Linked DNA regions of Homo sapiens: region 1 is linked to region 2. Evidence: promoter capture Hi-C in 16 types of primary human blood cells and fetal thymus (Javierre and others, 2016). All regions are on one chromosome and are shown on one strand. The core of a region is centred on a gene start or on the middle of the fragment in contact, and the rest is flanking DNA. Distances in the headings are between cores, read along the strand shown.

The links. The method cuts DNA at HindIII sites, captures the fragments that hold promoters and counts their contacts. A CHiCAGO score of 5 or more calls a contact.
Region 1: a fragment that was not itself captured here is called in contact with the fragment with the promoter of TNIP2 in region 2 in 1 of 17 cell types (naive B cells); the score reaches 5.0 in naive B cells.

Annotation. Positions count from the first base shown.
Region 1 is chr4:3,100,414-3,103,789 of GRCh38, forward strand. All of the region lies in intron 3 of HTT (huntingtin), which reads left to right. Among named protein-coding and RNA genes, the nearest start is that of HTT, 27 kb to the left of the region's middle. The HindIII fragment of the contact is 222 bases long and covers 1,953-2,174 here.
Region 2 is chr4:2,754,889-2,758,080 of GRCh38, forward strand. It overlaps TNIP2 (TNFAIP3 interacting protein 2), which reads right to left and starts at 1,448. Exons shown (of 6, transcript NM_024309.4): 1 at 1,126-1,448. The coding sequence starts at 1,401. RefSeq lists silencers at 991-1,050, 1,071-1,590, 1,771-1,910. The HindIII fragment of the contact is 7,310 bases long and covers 1-2,680 here.

The DNA.
Region 1 (3,376 bases), core at 814-3,313, 350 kb after region 2:
CTTTGTGGCTAGCACTTTGTTGTTTGGCTAATCACGCTTTCTGTGGTCAGGACGCTGGCTTCTCTGGAGCCATGGGATTCTAGCTCCCTGTCTTGTCCCTAGAGTGGTCACTGTCTTCTCTCTCCGCTTGCAATTCCTGCTTTGCTCGCATCTCACTTATGCAGTGACGTATATCAGTTTCACCTTGTTCTCCGTGCCTGCTGATCATTGGCACCACTTGCATGGTGCCATTTAGGGCCTGCTTCCAGTTAAGCTTGCTTCTCCACAGGCCTAAATATCCTTGCTTGCTTCTTTTATTCTCACTGGCAGGACCAGGGCGGTCTGTCTTTGCATGAGACAGGGTCTCGCTCAGTCACCCAGGCTGGAGTGCAGTGGCTGATCACGGCTCATTGCAGCCTTGAGCTACCGGGCTCAAGCTATCCTCCTGGCTTGGCCCCTTGAGTAGCTGGGACTACAGGCGTGCACCACCATGCCCAGCTAATTTTTAAAATTATTTGTAGAGATGGGATCTCGCCAGGTTGCCCAGGCTGGTCTTGAACGCCTGGGCTCAAGTGATCCTCCCTCCTTGGTTTCCCAAAGTGCTGGGATCACAGGTGTGAGCCACTGTGCCTGGCCCTTGATGTTTCAGTTCTTGATATTTGATCCTCAGAGTCAGAAAATCTAAAAAGAGGGCTATCCCAGGTTGCCTTGGTTCATGGCAAATGGGACGTTAAGAGGGCAGAGAGAATATGAACAGAAACTGTTCTAATATTGGTCATTTAATGTGTAAGTATTGTTCTTTTTTAAACCTCCTTCATTTTTTTTCCAGGAATTGCTGGACACAGTGGCTTGGTGTGTGTCTGAGGACTGTAGGCCATGGCCCTAGGTTGTGGTTTTAGGTCTCAGGTGCTCTTCCTGGCTGTCTCCTTGCTTCTTTCCCATGTCCTCTTCTTTGTTTCCAGCCATTTCTCCCTTATGCTTAAGTTTGGTGCAGCAGGGTTTGGCTGCTCTCAGATTCCTGCTTCCTCAGATGCTGTAGTTGTCAGGCCCAGCGGGCTGGCAGCGGGATCAGGATCTGGCTAGGTTTGCTCTCACTGTGGCAGAGTAGGGGGAGGCGTGGGAGAGCACGTGTGACCCCAGGCCAGCTGTAGGGAGCATAGGCATGGTCACGTAGCCTTCAGGTCCTAGACTTTGTCTTCTCATGAGTATGGCTGTGTGTGTATGGTGAAAACTAGGTTCTACTTAGCCCAAGAAAATGGGCACATTTTGCATGTGGTTTCTGTAGAGAAATGCACTGGGTATCTGACATAGCCTGGCAGCATGCCTCCCTCAGGTAGGTTAGTCTCAGGCGGTGAAGCACGTGTGTCCAGCAAGAACTTCATATGTGGCATAAAGTCTCCGTTCTGTGAGGTGCTGGCAAATCACCACCACCGTCAAGAGGCTGAAGTGATTTTTGTCTAGGGAGGCAGGAAAGGCTTCCTGGAGTCAGCAGCCAGTAGGTGAAAGAGTAGATTGGAGACCTTCTTAATCATCACCGCCTCTTGTCTCAAGGGGTGCCAGGAAGCTGTGGAGGCTGAACCCATCTTATGCTGCCAGAGAGTGGGACACCATGAGGGTCAGGTCAAGGGGTTGTACCTTGTTTGGTAGAGAATTAGGGGCTCTTGAAGACTTTGGATGTGGTCAGGGGAGTGTATCATTTAGGAAGAGTGACCCGGTGAGGACGTGGGGTAGAGGAGGACAGGTGGGAGGGAGTCCAGGTGGGAGTGAGTAGACCCAGCAGGAGTGCAGGGCCTCGAGCCAGGATGGTGGCAGGGCTGTGAGGAGAGGCAGCCACCTGTGTGTCTGCGGAAGCAGGGGCAAGAGGGAAGAGGCCAGCAGCGTGCTGCCATCACCCAGCGACTGGCGTAGATTGTGAGAGACCATTCCCTGCTCTTAGGAGGGGCTGAGTTTTAGTTTTCTCTTGTTATACAATAAGCTTGGTATTTGTTTACAAAACATTTGTAAAGCTAAATCAAGGTTTGATAAGGCTTCTAGTTTTATTTAAGAAGTAATGTTGAAATAAATGTTTGTCCAATTCGCTTTGCTCATTTAAGGACTTTCAGTACAAACTGCAACAACAGGATTAGGATTTAAACGTTTCTGAGATGTTTTTACTCCTCAGAATTTCCCAGAATGTGATCTGGTTTTGATTTTCAAGCTTGCTGACCCAATAGGTTAACCCACAAGTTTTACGAAGACCATCTCAGTCCACTTACATCAACTGCCCATGCCACGGTTAAAGAGATCATCGACTGATGTTTGGCACAGCTTCCTCCCTCTTGGGTGGGCAAGCATTTGGAAGAGAAGGCTCCTATGGGTGAGAGTGGGGCACCAAAGTCTTCCCTGTCCCATCCCCTAGCTTGAGAAGCCCTTCTCTAATGTGGACTTTGTGCCGTTAGCATCGTTACTAGCTTGAAGTTGACCATCTGGACGTACTTTCTGGTTTAGCCTCACAAGTGAGCAAGGAGGGTTGAGAGATGTGCTGTGAGGAATGTGGGGCCCCAGCTGGCAGCAGGCTCTGGGTCAGGGGGGCAGGGACCACGGGCATACCTGACAGTGAGGAGGGGCCACACCTGCAGAAAAGGATGCAGGACTCCGCCTTGGGAAGTGTTCTAGGCCAGAGCGAGGGTCTGTGGTTTATAAGTACACCCACAGTGCTCGGGACCCTGCAGATGTCCAGGGTGCCGTCTGAGCCCGTATCATCCAACAGAATGTTCTGCTAGTGAAGATTAAAGATTTACTCCAGGGGCTTTAGGATTTATTATATATATATAAATCCTATATATATAATTTTTTTTTTTTTTTTTTTTGAGATGGAGTTTCGCTCTTGTTGCCCAGGCTGGAGTGCAATGGCGTGATCTTGGCTCACTGCAACCTCCGCCTCCCGGGTTCAAACTATTCTCCTGCCTCAGCCTCTCGAGTAGCTGGGATTACAGGCGCCCACCACCACACCCGGCTAATTTTTGTATTTTTTAGTAGAGACGGAGTTTCTCCATGTTGGTCAGGCTGGTCTTGAACTCCTGACCTCAGGTGATCTGCCCGCCTTGGCCTCCCAAAGTGCTGGGATTACAGGCATGAGCCACCCCACCTGGCCAGGATTTATTGTATTTGAACCATCTACCATTTTAATTTTGATGTTATGTAGTATTTGATGATAATGAAAGTTAAATTGTTTTTCTTTCCATTTTTCTGTTTAAGTGAATGACCTGTATCTAGTTTATTCAGTAACTTCCTGCATATATTTGTTTCTTTCATTCTTAATGAATATATTCTTAATTTAGTTGCTATTATGTTTTGCTTTGCCCCAAAATTGAAATCTTAGTTTCCTTTTAGCTCGTTTTAGAACTAGTGATGGGAT
Region 2 (3,192 bases), core at 198-2,697:
CTAATTTTTTGCACTTTTTGTAGACAGGGTTTCACCATGTTGCTCAGCCTTGTCTCGAACTCCTGGGCTCAGGCAATCTGCCCGCCTTGCCTCCGAAAGTACTGGGATTACAGGCGTGAGCCACTGCACCCAGCCTAGGATTTGTGTCCTTTATCAGACACGGGCTGCATTTGCCATTGCTCCCAGCATAGAGTTGAAGCGCCACTAGTGAAAGACACATGCATGGGTGAGGGCTGGAAGGGACTCTAGAACACAATATGAGTACACGACCTTGGACCCAAGACACACATGTGTGCGTACACACACACACCATACACACCCCTCAGAATGTGTCTCCCGCACACACACCTCAAAACACCCCTAAGAACCAACCGGAACATACACACTACACAATACACACAGAATACACACAGCATACACACACCCCCCTCGGAATGTGTTCCCACACACGAACCTCAAAATACCCCTAAGAGCCCACCTGAACATACACCACACACACACAGAACCCAAGAACTGCACCAACCCCCCTCCTCAGAACCCAGTGCCTCCTCACCATCCCCCAGGACCCAGTGCCCTCCCAACCCCCCAGGATCCAGCATTCGCTTATCCCCTTCAGAACCTTGCACCCTCACCCCGCAGGACCCAGAGCCCCCTCACCTCCACCAGCACCTGGTGACGCCTCAAACCCCCCAGGACCCAGCACACCTCAGCCCGTGGTGTCCCCTTATCCCACTCAGGACCTGGTCCCCCTCTCTCCCCTAGGACCCAGGGTCCCCTCACCCCCCAGAAGCTGTTGCCCTATCACCCCCAGGACCCGACGGCCCCTTACCCCCAGGACCTAGTGTCCCTCAACCCCAGGACCCGGCACCCCCTCAACCCCCAGGACCTGATGCTCCCCCAACCCCTCAGGAGCCGGGGCCCCCTCACCCCCAGGACCCGGCACCCCCTCAACTCCCAGGACCTGGTGCTCCCCCAACCCCTCAGGACCCGAGGCCAACTCAACCCCAGGACCCAGTACCCCCTCAACCCCTCAGGACCCGGGGCCCGCTCGCTCACCCACCCAGGACCCGGCGGCCGCCACACGCACTCTCGCTCCCGCAGCTCCTCTGGTACCCGCCCTCGTACCTGGCGCATCTGGGCCTCGGCGGCGCCGCCCTCCTGCCTTCGCAGCTGCTCCCGGAAGCGCGCAACCTGCTCCAGCAGCGCGTCCACTAGGGACGGCGCGGCGTCCCCCTCCAGCGCGGCCAGGCGGGCGCGGAGGCGAGCGATGAGGGCGTCGCGGGCAGCGAGCTGGTCCTGCAGGCGGCGCAGCCGCTGTCCGGCCTCGTGGTACAGGGTGCAGAGCGCGGCAGCTGCGCGCGGGGCCTCCTCCCAGCCGCCCGACCCCGGGTCCCGGGACATGGCTGTAGGCCCGCCCGGGAGGCCGCGCGGCCGCCGGCAACTTCCGCGCCCGGGCCCCGCCGGCTGCCGCCCTTCCCGGAACTTTCCCCGGTGCGCCCCGCCCACCCACAACAGCCCGGCCCCGCCCTCCCCCACGCAGCCCCGCCCCCCGCGCAGCCCCGCCCTTCCCCGCGCAGCCCCGCCCGACGGCAGCCCGCCCAGCCCCTTCTCGCCCGGCCCCACCCCTCCCACCGCCTACAGCCCGGCCCCGCCCCTGCCGTCCGCACCCGTCCGGGAGAGTTGGCCTGGCCCCCGAGGCTGTCCACACCCCAGCTGGTGCTGGGCTTATTCCAGTGGCCCCAAACATCCGCCTCTGAGGAGTTGTCGGAGAGTCGAACTCAGCCCAGGAGTTTGGGGATTCATCAGCCTCTGATGGAAAGGAAGGGCTTAACGACAACCCCCAAGCTCTGGAGCTAAGTGTGGGTCTGAATCTCCCCGCGAGGGTCCAGGCCTTGCGGCCACAGCAGCAACAGAAGCTCCAGGAGCTGAGCTCGCAGCGCACCAAGCACGTGGCATGTGTTCCGTCACCTGGGGACACTGAGCCCAGAAAGAGCTCCAACCCCCTGCCCCGCACGCCGCTTTCTTTTTTCTTTCCTTTTTTTTCTTCTTTTTGAGACGGAGTTTCGCTCTGTTGCCCAGGCTGGAGTGTAATGGCGCGATCTCGGCTCACTACAACCTCCGCCTCCCAGTTTCAAGCGATTCTCCTGCCTCAGCCTCCTGAGTAGCTGGGATTACAGGCGCCCGCCACCATGCCCTGCTAATTTTTTGGTATTATTAGTAGAGATGGTGTTTCACCATGTTGGCCAGGCTGGTCTTGAACTCCTGACCTCAGGTAGATCCACCGGCCTCAGCCTCCCAAAGTGCTGGGATTACAGGCGTCAGCCACTGCAGACGCTGCTTTGTAAGGTGGCTAGTATGGGCCCACGGGACAACCTTCCTGCTAGATGCTGTTCTTATATAGCAGAAGCAGCAGGAAACCAGCCCCTTCCCACCCTTTCGCTTTTCCATCCCTTTCCTTCCCCAAAATTCCCAGACAAACGCTAGTGTTTTTCCACAGCCCAGTCTTCCCCACAATGATGCCCAAGCACACATGGGGTCTTTCCAAGGTTCCCTACTCAGGATAGGGCAGGGGTCTTCCCTGTGTGTGCACTTGCCCACAGGCTCCGCCCCTGAGCAGCTTCTTGACTTTCTTCCCTTATGTGATCCACAGCCAAGCCTGAGCTGAGCCTGGGAAAACACAAGCTTGTAGAATCAGACAAGCCTATAAGCAAAGCCAGAGCCACCCAAGTGCTTATGGCCCGGACATTGGGCTACACAGGCCTGGCTTTGCTATGGAAGGCTCCTTCTTACTCATCAGAGCCTGGGCTTCCTCTCAGCAGAAGGAAGGGCAGAGCGAGTGCCCACCCTACCTGGTTGGGCTGTTGTGGGGACTAGAGGGTGGAGTGTGCATGGAATGCTTGTCCAGTGCAGTGGCTGCTGCACAGCAAGCCTACAGTCCCCATGGCTATGGTTACAAACAATGCCTATTGATTGTCTGGGGCATGAGTGGAAAAAACAAAACTGGACCCAGAGCTGTTAGAGGCTAATGTGTGGCCTGGGGCACGTCATTCCAGTGACCTACCTTGAGCCTCTGCCTCAACTGTAAAAGGTGCATGTGACAATCCACAGTCTCTCATCCAACAACAGCCTTGGGGTCAGGTGTGGTGTATTGTATTGTATTGTACTGTACTGTATCGTATTGATTTATTTTAG